2 separate regions of the Homo sapiens genome follow, and region 2 is linked to region 1. The links are contacts of gene promoters, found by promoter capture Hi-C in blood cells and fetal thymus (Javierre and others, 2016). All regions are on one chromosome and are shown on one strand. Each heading gives the region's core, a stretch centred on a gene start or on the middle of the fragment in contact. The rest is flanking DNA. Distances are from core to core; before and after follow the strand shown. Region 1 holds the start of NKD1-AS1 (NKD1 antisense RNA 1). Region 2 overlaps NKD1 (NKD inhibitor of Wnt signaling pathway 1).

Region 1 (6,789 bases), core at 3,275-5,774:
CTGCTTGCTTTCTTCATGGTGAAGTGCCGTGTTGTAGAGAGAATCAGGACGCTTAAGCGTAGAGGGTCTGCTGGCTGCTGGTGTGCTGGTTTGACTTTGGGCAGGCCACCCTACCTTTCTGAGCCTCAGCTTCCACATCTATAGAATGGGAACAAGGGCCTTTGCCCTGCTTGGCTCCCAGAGTTGGTGCCAGGAACGGATGACAGCGTGAAGCAGAGTGTTTCCTGAATGGGAGATTTTAAATTCAGAAACAGGGAAAGAAATCACCAAATGGGGGGCTGCCTTATAAGAGTAAGGAAGGACCTCTCTGCTGAGACCAGGGCAGACAGCTGGCTGGAGAGCTGGGGGGCCATGGTGCAAGGGTCTGCGGAGGGGGATCTAGCCCTGCAGGGGTCTGAAGGGCCACAAGAGGAGAGCAGACAGTTCTGGGAAGTTCTCAAGGGGAGCATCGGCCAGACCTGAGGACCGTGGCCACATCTGGCCTGAGAGCTGTTATAAATATAGAATCTCAGCTCCAGCCCAGGCCTGCTGAATCCGATCTGCATTTTAACAAGCTCCCCAGGTGGCTTGCATGAACACTGCACTCAGAGAAGCACTGTTTGAAGATACTCACTCCGTTGCCTAGAAGTTGGAGGCAGGCTGGAGAGCCAGGTATCTAGCAAACTTTACTCAAATGTAAGCAGGCCCCAGATCAAGGGGGAGGAGTCCCATGAACAGAAAGCTTTGTGTGTGCATACAGTCTGGTATCTTTTATGTGAAAAAAAGGCACCAGACCATCCTCAGGAGTTTCTTAGGGTACCACATATGCATATGACTGTGTGGATAGAGGCCTAGACAGATGATAACCATAGCTCTTTCCAAACATGGGAGGAGACTTAAGTCTGTGTTATCTGCATTTCATGGTTAAACTTTTATAAGAACATAGTTGGGCATGGTGGCTCAAACCTATAATCTCAGCACTTTGGGAAGCTGAGGCTGGAGGATCGCTTGAGCTCATGAGTTCAAGACCAGCCTGGGCAACATAGTGAGACCCTGTCTCTATTATCAATAATTCAAAAACTATATTTTTTAAAAAATCAAAAAACCACAATTATGTATTCCTTATGAAATTAAAAACTAATGTCAGTATTTAAAGGTGAAAACCGTAAATAAGGCAGTAGGAGTGGAGCTGCTCTGGTTTGAGTCGGGTGGGCATCTGGACCTGTCCGTGTGGCCCTTAAGACCCCATGAGGGACCCTGGGCCCAGTGACCATCTGTGGTCCTCTGGCACCCTTGGTCCTGTGGCCCGAGGCCTCCCACCCCAGGGTGGGGGATATGGTGTGGATGGTAGGCCACCGCGTGGCCAGGTCTGGTGAGAGCAGGTGCTACTGAGTTCTGGCCACAGAAAACCAGCTGCCTGCTCTGGACCTGGGACTGAGGGGTCCCTCTGTGCTACTGACTAAGGGAGAACAAGCCGAGTCCTGAATCTCTTCTTTGTCTTCCTGTTGGCCAAGTTCATTGCCTCTTGGCGGGCTGGAGAGCTGTTTAAGAGAGAAAAAAGGCCATCTGAGGCGTGAAGATAAAAAGAAGTCTTTTAGCCATCCCAGGAGAGGATGGCTTTAGCTCCCGCGTTGTTATGTAAAGCCGGCCCTAATCCAGCATCTTAACCGCCTTAACTGGCCAGCTGGGAGCGGGAGGGATGGGAGATTAAGGCTGGGCTTGGTGGGCCAGGGCTGCAGAGCTCCTTTTGAACTGGGGAAAGAACAAAGTAAACATCAAAAGTCTCAAGCTCTGAGAGCTGGCTGGGCGTGGCAGGGCTGGTGAGGTGAGGCTTTCGTGGGGAGAAGGGGAGAGGGACCCCTCCTCAGCTGACCCAGCTGAGGTCTGAGGACCAGGGAGGGGTGACCCCATGCTCACCTTCAGCGCACACCCAGCCTCCCTGCCCCCACAGCTGGGCAGGACTCCAGGTAGTCGCAGCCTGCGGCTTGGGCCCCACGGGGAGAATGGGTGGCCAGGCCACGTTCCCCTGCATGGCCTCCAGGAGTCACTGTGTCTGAGGGTGCTGCAGCCACTGCTTCATCCCCCTCTCCCATCTCCCTCTCTCCAGGTCCCCCCTGCCTCTCACCTGGTGAACGCTGCCCCCGCCCAGCTTCTTGGCTATCTCTGTGTCTCATCTCTGGGCCTTTGCTCGTTGTCTCTCCGCATCCTCAAGTGCCTGGTTTCTATTTCTCCACTCTCCGGCATCTTTAGGAAGGCTGCTCTGCAGCTTCCCTAAAGGAGATGCTCAGAGCCACTGAAGTCAGGCAGCCCCTCCTCCTCGGGACCAGGCCCAGGCCTCCCAGCTTCCAGGGCAGGCCTTGCTTTGGCCCTGCTGCCCTCTCCCCACTGGCCTGGCGTGCGCATGTGGCAGCCCGTGGGGTGGTCTCTGCTTCCTCAGCCCAAGGGTGGATGTGCCTGGAGTTGGTGGTTCTGCCCAGCAGGGAGCAGTGTTAAGACTGAGGCCTGGTGGGGGCTGAGCAGCACTCGGGGAGCTCGGGGCCTGTTCAGCTCTGCAATGGTCCCTAACTTTGCCTTCCTCATCTCTCCTCCCTTGATTCTGACTTCCTGTGAATTCGCAGCTCAGACCCCATTCCAGCCTGGCTTACCCACACTCACTGTGTGACCTTGGGTGAGTCACTTCCCTGTGGCTCAACTTCCTCACTGGGTTCCTTGTAGCACTTCTTTGCCAGGGTTATTGTGAAGACAATGAGGTGATGGATGTAGGTCGCAAGGGTGGCCCTGGTACAGAGTAAGTGCCCAGCACACTTGAGCTGCCATGATTCTTGTTTCCTGGGTTCAGTTTTCTTGAAGAGGTGTCAGCCCGTGTTTATAATCATTTACCTAGCCCAGATCAAAGAGGACCTCTTTGCAAAGCTTCTTTAATCCTGTTAGAATCTCCAAAGGCCTCCCCGTACTCCTGGTGCCTGGAGTAGGGTCTGGCATGCTGTATGTGCTCAATAAATAAACACTCACTGAAGAAGGAAAGTCAATACCCTGTAGTCACTGAAAGCAGGTGACCTCTCCCTCTGCCTCACTGAAAGCAGGTGACCCCTCCCTCCGGCCTCTCAGGCAGGACCTGTGTACCTGTGTTGGGGCCTGGGCCAGTCTGTCCAGGCTCCCAGGGGTCAGATGTTGGGCAAAGGAACTTGGGAGGCCTGTACTTCCTTTCATCTGTAGTTGGAAAACTGAAGCCCAGAGAGGGAAGTGACCTGTCCAGGGTCACACAGCAGACTGAGAACAGAATCTGGCCCCTCACTCCTCACCATTCAGTATGTGCTGGGCATTTGCTGCAGCTAGGGGCTCTGCTGGGCCCTGGGTTCACAGGCACGAGCAAGGTAGGCAGGCCCAGCAGTCACGACATTCACAGGAGGGAGGCAGGGATGAATACATAAATCTGCGAAGGAGCATGGAAGTTTCTAGTAGTGGTTCTCTGCTAAGACGTAAAACCCAGGGAGAGGTAGAGTGAGGAGGCTTTTCTGAGAAGGTGATGTTTCAGCTGAGATGCAGATGCCAGGAAGGAGCCAGCCATGGAAGAATGTAGGGGGAGAGCAGCTATGAGTGAGCAGAACCCCAGAGTGGAGGGAACTTGGTGTTTGGGGAAGAACAAAAAGGAGGCCGATGTGGCATCAGGAATGAGAGTGGGGTGGTCGGCAAGTGTGGGACCACGCCCTTAGGTTGCGTGGTTCTGCCCAGATGGTTGGGTGGGTGACTGCTGGATTCTGACCTCTGTTTTAAGAAGTTAATTCTGGCTTCTGGGAGGGACTGCCCATGGGCAGGGAGGAAGAGGGCAATGAAACCAGGAGGTGACTGCAGGGTCGCAGGCGAGAGGAGATGGTGCTGGCCTAGCCTGGGAGCTTGGGGCTGGGGAGAGGTCCATGGGGCTGGAGGTTGGAGCTGGTGAGAAGGGGGTTGAGGGAACGAGAGAGATCAGGGATGCATCTTAGACTTTTGGTTTCAGGAACTAAGGATTTGGCGGTGTCACTTCTGAGGTGGAGGTTTTGGCGGGTGACCATCAAGCCTCCCGTTTTTGGACCAGTTGGGTTCAAGATGCCCATTTAACATCCAAGGAGAGGTACCGAGGAGGCCGTGGGATACCTGGTGATTGGAGCTTGGGGTTCAAGGAGCAGTTGGGCAAGAAACAGAGAGAGAGAGCGAGTCAAGACTTCTCAGGAAGTAGCCACGGACATTGCCCGGGACTCTCGGGCAAGGCTCCTCAATACACAGGGCTGGCGGTGGCTTCCCAGGAAGGCTGGGAGGAAGAGGAGTTCATGGGAAGGCAGCAGGGACCCCCAGATGGAGGGGCAGGTGCCCATGCCCCGCCGGCTCCTCTCCCTCAGTTCAGAGCCTGTCCTGTCGGGGGGTGTCAGCGGCCCTGACTCTCCACTCCCCTACAGTCCCCCCAGAAGCTGAGTTGCAGCGGTGACAGAGAACAAGCGGACTTTGTTACCTTGGCAGTTTCTCTCAAGTCTGCTCCTCATAAAAGCTCAGCTGGAACAGTGGAAATTCTGACTTGTGTCAGATACCGGAGAGGCTTTAATAGTTTCAAGTAGCTCGGGGTTAGATTGTAAAAGCCGAATTTCATCACATGTTTTAACTTGGGTGGGGGCGGGCGGGGGAGAGTGGAAGGGACGTGATATTTTTAGCCCACAGAAGGCTTTTTCTCCCCTTTCCCCTTCTCTCCCGGGGCTTCCCCCTCCCTCCCTGAACAGATGTTTCGTCTCAATCCTGTTCAGATGTCAAAGCCGAGTGGCCACCAGCCTTATGCTCTGATGAGGAAAAAAAGGCCAGAATGTTATTTGTTGAGAAGGATTTCCTCCCCTACCCGCTTTTCCCCCTTTTTTGTTTCCCCTCAGTTACAATTGGTCCATAAGCAAAATCTAGTGGCAGTAAAATGCAGCTGGGAGGCAGGATGGTGGAGAAGAAGTCCCTGGTGGCATTTCTGGTCTCAGGAAGGGGCAGACACCCACAGGTGAAAAAGCTGGAAATCACCCTAGAGGGACTGCCCTGGGTGAGTGAATTACTGCTGTGGTGCTGGTGCTGGTGGTTTTTCCTAAAAAGCAGGATCTCAGAGAGACGGATTTGTTAAGTCAGGATTCTTTCGGTTCTTTTGGAAACTCACTTAAACTTTTGGCTCATGAAATTGAAAAATCCTAGGGTAGATCTTGCCTAAAAAGGCCTGTTTGGATTCTGGAGCTAAAACCATGTCATGGACACATGCACGCACACACACACACTCACACACACACGTATACTCACACATTCACACACATGTCTCGCTCGCTGCCCCTCTCTCTCCCTCTCCATCATCTCTCCCTCTGTCCCCTGGTGGCTTCTCCCCCACAGGGGGCAAGGGTGGCAGTTCCCAGCTCTGGGCACTCCCATCCTATGAGCACAGCCCTGTCAGGTGGAAGAAAGTTCCCAGGTCACAGGGGTTCTTGCACATGTTGGACTCACTTTATTGACCACTTTACTGGTCACTTGACCAGGGTAGATCTAGGTTTTATGGGACCTGAAGCTTTCTGGGGCCAAACCAAAATAAATATCTCACCAACTCAGTCTCTCCTTAGCTCATGTCCAGAAATGCCTGTATTTCCCCTAGTATCACCTCACACAGGCAAAGGATGTCAGAATGGTTAGATGACAATCTTAATAGATTGAGGATAAAATGCCTAATTTGGAAAATGTTACAAATACAAACACATATGACCACATAAACACCTTGCAAAGACCCATCCTGACTTGGAAAGGGCCCGTGTAGGTGAGAGGGCCCAGAAGCCTAGCTTCATTAGCTTCTTCATAAACTCTTCTTTCATACTGACCTAGGACCAGCCACGTGGCCTTCAGGATGAAACAAGCTGGGTCAGGTAGGGGTACTGAGTGCAGTGTGACCCTGGAGTGGGATCAGTCTCCATAAACTAGATAGACTGAGAGTGGGGGATGAGTAGCTCTGGGGAGGAAAGCCAGATGCTATCATCAGAAGGAGGAGAAGGATTGCTGGACAGGCAGGAACAGGTGTCAGCTATTGTGGTCTGAGAGAGTGGACAGGCCAGTGGTTGAGGAGTTGGGAAACTGGGATTTAGTTCTCTTTGTTCCACAACTTCTGGGTTCAAATCCTGGTTCTGCTACTTACCGTTGTTTCATTTTGATGATGCTGCTGATGATGCAGCACCTATAGTGTGATAGACACTGCACTATAGACATATATATCTCAGGGTATAGATATTGGGCTGATGGAAGATTCTGATGATTAAATGAGTGATATAATGATGGTGTAATAAGGCTCACTGAGCAGGGAAGCCTAACCTAGCCCTGAGGGTGTGACAGCATGCTGCTCAGAGGAAGGGAGGCTTAAACTGAAGACCTGAAGGATGAGTGGGAATTGCAGAGCTGGAAAGAGTGTTCTTGGCAGGGATAACAGCGTGAGAGCATGGCAGGCTCAGAAAAGGGAAAGCAGTTCCACAGAGAGACGGGACTGAGAGGTGGCAGCAGCCGGGTCGTGGAAGCCTTTGGACCCCTCCTTAGGGGAAAGGGGGCCACTGGAGGGGTTTAAGCAGGGAAACGGCATAATCAGTTTTGGTTTTTAAGCTCAGTTTCCTCTTTTGTACGATGCCAACAGTAGCACACCCTGCACAGTGTTAAGAGGACTTAATGGAATAATGTGTGGTACTACTAACTTCACCAGCCTCTCCATGCAGCCCACCACAGTATGTGGCTGTGTTTACAAACAGAGGTGGGATCGCTAGGACCCTCATTCCCTAAGGAGAGCCTGAT
Region 2 (7,000 bases), core at 2,182-4,681, 54 kb before region 1:
TGAGAGGGCTTCACATTGGTGTGGCCTCAGCCAAAGGCTCCCTGCCTGGGCTTCAGATTCTCCAGCTGAGAAGTAGAATAACATCATGATAATTTAGCACTATCTATTGAGTGCATTCATTCATGCATCTGCAGTAGGGTTTTTTTTTTTTTTTTTTTTTTAAATTTAGAGACAGGGACTCACTGTGTTGCCCAGGCTGGCCTTAAACTCCTGGCCTCAAATGATCCTCCTGCCTTGGCCTCCCAAAGTGCTGGGATTGCAGGCGTGAACCACTGTGCCCAGCCTTATATATATTTTTTAACTTTTATTTTAGGTTCAAGGTACATGTACAGGTTTGTTCTACAGGTAAATTGTGTGTCATGGGAGTTTCGTGTGCAGGTTATTTCATCCCCCAGGTAATAAGCACAGTACCCAACAGGTAGTTTTAGATCTTCAGCCTCCTCCCACCCTGCACCCTCCAGTAGGCCCTCATGTCTCTTGGAGTGGGCATTGAGTACCTGCTTTAGGCCAGGGACACCTGTGCTTGGTACCTAGAGTGAAGGCCTTGATTTCATGGAACTTACCATCTTGTAGGAAAACAGAAATATTTTCATAAACAAGTTGTGCAATTTAAGTTGTGATATGTGCCTCCAAAAAGTACTGGATGTTTTGAGAACATGTACCAGGGATCAGAACTCATCTGGGGTGTTTTTCATTCCACAAATATTTGACTGCTTTATCTATCCCACGTGCTGTGCTTAGGGTGTTGTGGAAATTGTGAGGACTAGGACATAGTTCTTGCCTCTGTGAGAGTGGAACTAAGCTCTCCCCATGGCCTTTCATCGATTTTTCTTCTCTTATTGCATTGGTTAGAATCTCATTGCATTGGTTAGAATCTCATACTCTGTTTAATAACTACCAAGTATGATACTTTTTGTTTAAGAAAGCTTCCTTCAACTCCTGGCTTTCTGAGCTTTGTAAAATCAGGAATAATTATTGAATTTTGTCACATGCTGTTGGGATGCAGATGGAATGCATCATTCTTTGCTAATGTGGTGTGTGATTTGTATGCTTGATTTACATTGCTGGATTTCCTAGTGCAACCTTCTTGGCCCTCCGAAATTCTTTGTCATGATAGATTATTCTTTTAAATGTGACCGCATTTGATAGGCTAATATTTTACTTTGGATCTTTGCATGAAGTACTCAGTGCAAGTTAACTGTTAAAGTTATAAAACCATAAGGGAAGCACAGGGCTGTGGAGGTTGGGGAGGGTTTTTTTGAAGGAAGTGGGCATGTGAGTAGGGATTTGAAGAATGGTAAGACTGAGATCAGGGGTTAGAAACTTAAGGACCTACAGGGGCCAGAGAGGTCATATGAATGAATGCCACAGGCTCAGTGGGAGACATCTGAGAGGGGTGGGAACCGGGGTGCCCCCGGGGAACACACACCCTGCCTCAAGGGGGCAGTGCCACTCAACCCCAGCCAATCACTGCCATGTGGGAATATGGCCCTGGTGTTGCCACACGGGCTGATCATTAAGAAAATCCAGCTGTCTGAATTTTTATGTGAAACTTTTCCAATTTAAAAAATTATTGTTAACCAATTAAAATTTTTAGAAAACACCTTCTTTGGGTGACTCAGACGACTGGATTTGGCCTGTTAGTACACTGGCTTGTGTTTGCTGATTTAGACCTTTAAGATTCTGATGGTGGTGGTGGTAGAGAAGCAGTATGTTAGTGATAAAAGGACACACGAGTGAGTATCATATGGACTCAACATTGTGCCTAATACTTTCCATGCATTCTCTTGTAGAATCCTCACAACTGCCTTAGGTATTATTCCGCTATCGCATAGATGAGGAGGCAGGCCCAGCAAATTAGAGTCACTAGCCCAGCCAGGGAGAGCTGGATGCAGGCTGCATCCAAGGCAGAGAGTGCAGGCCAAGCAAAGGCTCATTGCCAGGAAGCTGTGCACAGTGTATTTCAGTCTGGTGGGAGAGCAATGTGGGAGGCACAGGAAGGGTAAGTAAAGATGTGGGCTGGGATGGGAGGCCGAGGTTGGTGGAGGCCGAGGTTGGTGGATCACCTGAGGTCAGGAGTTTGAGACCAGCCTGGCCAACATGACGAAACCCCGTCTCTGCTAAAAATACAAAAAAAAAAAAAAAAAGAAAGAAAAGAAAGAAAAAAAAAATAGCCGGGCATGGTGGCAGGCACCTGTAATCCCAGCTACTTGGGAGGCTGAAGCAGGAGAATTCCTTGAACCCGGGAGATGGAGGTTGCAGTGAGCCAAGATCGTGCCATTGCACTCCAGCCTGGGTGACAAGAGTGAAACTCTGTCTCAAACAAACAAACAAACAAACAAACAACAAAACAAAGATGTGGGCTGGGAGACTTTATGCTGAAGACCAGCATGTGCCCATAGAAGGTGCCAGAGGTGTGCTTAGAACTTGCAGAATCAGACTTCCTGGGTCTGAGTCCCAGCTGCACTTCTCCCCAGCTCGGTGGCCTTGGGCCAAGTGATGGCTCATCTCTGATTCTCAGTTTTCACATCTGTGGAATGGGTAGAGTAATGGTTCCTACCTCATTGGGTTGTTTTAAGGGTAGAAATGGGTTCATTTCAGCAAGTTAAAGAATAAAGGAGATGTCACCCCTTCTTTTGCAGCTTGCCAGTGTTGTTTGCTAGTGATCACCTGGATGTGTGCTCAGTGTGGTACCAGTGTGCTAAGTGCAGTGAAGGAAAAGGATGGGGAAGGAGAATAACGGAGGATTCTACTTCAGATTAGGGAGTGATGCGTAAGTCGTTAAGACCCAAAGAATAAATAGGAAATAGCTAGGTGGGGAAAGGTTTATTAAAAATATTCCAGGCAGAAGGCACGGGATGTGCAAAGGGCAAGAGGCATGCAGGGTTGGTGCACAGAGAAAGTGTTCAGCCTCCTTCTCGGTGTCTGACTTGGAACCACATTCCAGTCTCTGAGGTGTTAGAGCAGAACTATGTGGTGCAGCAGCAGGGAGTGGGCAGTGCCTGCTGGGCTGGGTGGTACCACTGTATGTTGCATCCCGTCATGAGGCCTTGTCTCCTTGCCGCAAGTCTTCCATGAAGTGTTACTGGTGTCTGTGGACTCCAGCTTTCTGGTCAGGTTGGAAGAGGTAGGGAGGAGAACCTCTCAGTCACAAGAAATAGTGTCACCCTGGAGCGGATTGGCTGGCCTGCTGGGCTGCCCAAGCCTTCTGGCCTTGAGCATAGAGCTGGGGTCCTGAGGAGGGGAGAGGCAGAGCATAAAAGGACCCTGTTAGCAGGATGGGGCTGTCTTCCCTCAGGCCACAGCCTCCCTAATGGGCTCAGGCCGGAGGATGTTTTTCTAACTTCAGAAGGCTGCGTGGGCTGGTGGGCCCCTCACTCAGAGGCCTCGGCTTGCGGTGGCTCCAGTGAGTGGGTTTGGGGGTGCTGGTGTGTGGTGCCATGCCCATTCCATGCCTGGTTTCCAGAGGGAGCCTTGTTCCAGGACAGTTTTTGACCCTGACTTTGTTGTTTTACCCTTCTTTCCCCCTTCAAAGGCAAAAAGATGATTGAAGAGAACTACTATAATCCAGGAACAAAGTTGCCTTTTCAGCGGGCACTGGGGACTTTCTCTGCTTCCTCCCTGCCCTGGAAAGTCCAAAGGCACCCACTGCCTCAGCTGGTCCTGGGCACGTGCCTGCTTTCTCAGTGGCTGCAGGCTCAGTGTGCCCGCGAGCTGCCCACTGTGTGCATAGCCCCGTGCTGAGTCTGGGAGCTGCAGCCCGAGGAGGAGGTGGTAACAGCGTAGCTGCTGCTTGCTGCGTGTCTGCTGTGTGCCAGGCTCTGGGCCAAGCACTGTTCATAGTGCTGGATTCTCAGAGCACTGTTATGAGGCCGCTGTTATTATTATGCCCATCTTACCCATAGGGAAACTGAGGCTTTAAAGAAGTCAACCATATTGCCCAAGGTCACTTAACTTGGAAGTGGAATCTTGCTTCAGCAAGATTCAAATTCAGATCACTCAGTGTGATTTTAGAGCCATCTTAAATCAGTTTAGGCGAGTTTTTTTTTTTTTTTCAACTGTATGTCTCAGCCCCATTCATGGTTCATGACATCAATTTAGTGACCAAAATGAAATAGAGTAAAAATATGAGAAAACATTATATATAGTAAGAGTAAATATTGTTTTGTGTAATTTTTTGTTCTAGTTAAAAAAAATGTATACACACACTTTACACACACCTATACCCAAACCCATCTATCTATCTATCTATCTATCTATCTATCTATCTATCTACAGCAGAGGCATATTGTAAAATATAATTCTTACTATAGGTCATAATCAGAGTATTAGAAAAACGCTGGTGTGGGTCACTGGTGCAGGCCCTGAGCCTGAATGCCTGGTTTTGAGCCCTGGCTCTACTTCTCACTAGCAGTGTGACCTAGGGCAACTTTCCTGACCTCTCTGTGCTTTCTGAGCTGTTTGGTTTGTTGACTTTTGGGCCTGGGTCAGTGCTCCCAGGGATGCTGTGGGTGCTTGCTGCTGGCTCACTCCCTTTGCTTAGGGAATGAAGAGGATGAGCAGTCCCATGGAGGGGGGGCCCATGGCTTCTCCCCTGAGAAGCCAACAGCAGCAGCTTCATCCCAGGAGAAACACAGACATGGCTCAGTCATCAGGGGTTGGACACAATGCTGCGCTGGGAACCCTGAGCCTGGGGGTGCCTCCAGCTTAGCTATGAGGTATCTATTATGACCTCTCCTGCCTTCTGCTTCCTCCTCTCAAAAATGCATTAAAGGAAAGGAGAAGGCTTTGTTTCTACTGCTGTAAAAAAAAAAAAAAAGTCCAAAGATTAGTGACTTGATCACTTTGTGACTTGCTTAAGAGTATGCACTTTGGACCAAGCCTGGGAGGGTCAACTTGTCTGTGGCTCCATGTAGCACAGTTAGGGTGGCTCTAACAGCAAGGGTCTGACTGCAGCAGCTCCAAATAAGTGACATGTCTGGGGCTTCAGTTCTCTTCTAGTTGGCCTCACCTCATGAGTAGCTTGGGCTTCCTCACAGTATGGCAGTCTCAGGGTAATCAGATTTACATGGTGGCTGTCTTTCCCAAGAGTATAGAAGCAAAAACGGCCAGGACTCTTTAAGGTTTAGGCCTGGAATTAGCAACAACACATTCTCTTCATTAAAGCAAGTCACAGGTCCAGCCTAGATTTAGGGGAAGGAACTACACAGGGGCATAAATACTGGGAAGTGGGATTCACTGGGGGCCATCCACACAGTCTACCGGAGAGTAGGTGGTCTCTTGCAGAGAGAGTGGAGTTATAGAAAAGGACTGAGACGTGTCCCTTGGGTTTAGGATCCTGGCGGTCACAGTTGGGTCTGGCAGGAACTGTCTTGGTGAAGTGACAGCAGAGGTGAGACTTGGGTGGCTCACGAAGGGACTAAGAAATATGTGCAGGGGAGCAGAAGCACATACTTACAAGAACATTCATGGCTGCATTTGGAAGAATGAAAAGTTTTTGACAACTCAAACATCCATCACTAGGGTACAAGGTAACAGTGGTGTGGACTTCTCATTGAGCTCTCTGCAACTGGTCAAAGCCCAGCGAGTAAGGGCCTCTCTTGCTGACAGGAAAGAGACCCTGAGACGCTGCTGAATGAGCAAAGCAACTGCAAAACATTCATAGGCCATGGTCCTGTTTCTTACAGTGTGAAAAAGTCTATTCAGGCCTGTGTCACTGTGTATCTGCAGGTGCATAGAGAAAGATCTGGAAGGGTACACTGTCAAGGACTATTTCCCTGAGGAATGGAGAATTTTGCTTTTCATTTTGTACATTTTTAGGTTGTTTGATTTTACAAAAAATGAGCATGTGCTACTTTTTGTATTTTTCAAAAAGGTGATGTATTTTAAAAGTGAATGACAGATGAGGAAACAGCATGTGTAGGCAACTGTATGGAGAAGCTTTATCAGAAGGAGTGGAGAGAGAAGACAGCAGCCAGAGGGTGTGGAGTTGGGGAGACTCGATGCGGCCGAGGACCACCTACATCTGAATCTCTTGGGTGCTATTCAAAATGTAGACTCCTTGGGGTTTCCTGAGCCTGAGTCAGAACCTTTCTGTACTAGGCAACAGCTGGGCCGACTGGACCCTGAAGGAAAGGAGAGAGGAGGGTGCAGGAGTTGGAGAGGGATGAGGGGGGAGGAGGGCACTCCCCATTTGTAGTGTAGCGGGACCTAATGAGCGACCCTACAGAGAAGCCAGTGCAGGCCCTCACTCATGACAAGCTCTCGCTCCATGGTTCTCTCTCCTCTTCCCACATCCCCATAACTGTGGCTGCTTAAACTTGCAAGCGGATTTAGAGCTACCCTGGCAGTCACTGACACCTGCCTCTCTTGAAAGGGCTGCTAGGTCCCACCACCACCCCCCCCCCCCGCCGTAGAATGGGTAGAAGAAGGGGCTGTAGAAGTGACCTCTAGACTGTGCTGACCAGTAGAACTTTCTGATGATGGAAATGTTCTGTGTCTGCATTGTCCCCTCTGGGAACCTGTGGCTTAGAATGTGACCACTGGGACTCAGAGACTGCCTAAATTTTAAGATATATTTTATTTGAATGAATTTAAATGTGAACTTAAATAGCCCCATGAGGCTAGTGGCTACCTCATTGGACAGCACAGCCCTGGACGCATGGAGAAGATCCTGTGTGTCAGGCTAAACTCCATCCTCAGTGGGCACAGTCCTGGACCCATGGAGAAGACCCTGTGTGTCAGGCTAAACTCCATCCTCAATGGGCACAGCCCTAGATGCATGGAGAAGACCCTGTGTGTCAGGCTAAACTCCATCCTCAGTGGGCACAGCCCTGGACCCATGGAGAAGACCCTGTGTGTCAGGCTAAACTCCATCCTCAGTGGGCGCAGCCCTGGACCCATGGAGAAGACCTTGTGTGTCAGGCTAAACTCCATCCTCAATGGGCACAGCCCTGGACCCATGGAGAAGACCCTGTGTGTCAGGCTAAACTCCATCCTC

What was found. The method cuts DNA at HindIII sites, captures the fragments that hold promoters and counts their contacts. A CHiCAGO score of 5 or more calls a contact.
Region 2: a fragment that was not itself captured here is called in contact with the fragment with the promoter of NKD1-AS1 in region 1 in 7 of 17 cell types (non-activated CD4 T cells, total CD8 T cells, total CD4 T cells and 4 more); the score reaches 7.6 in non-activated CD4 T cells.

Annotation. Positions count from the first base shown.
Region 1 is chr16:50,609,126-50,615,914 of GRCh38, forward strand. NKD1-AS1 (NKD1 antisense RNA 1) reads right to left here and starts at 4,525. Exons shown (of 3, transcript XR_007065197.1): 1 at 4,466-4,525. The region is part of intron 4 of NKD1 (NKD inhibitor of Wnt signaling pathway 1); the gene reads left to right. RefSeq lists an enhancer at 779-1,744. The HindIII fragment of the contact is 2,641 bases long and covers 2,891-5,531 here.
Region 2 is chr16:50,556,590-50,563,589 of GRCh38, forward strand. All of the region lies in intron 3 of NKD1 (NKD inhibitor of Wnt signaling pathway 1), which reads left to right. Among named protein-coding and RNA genes, the nearest start is that of NKD1, 12 kb to the left of the region's middle. The HindIII fragment of the contact is 5,014 bases long and covers 925-5,938 here.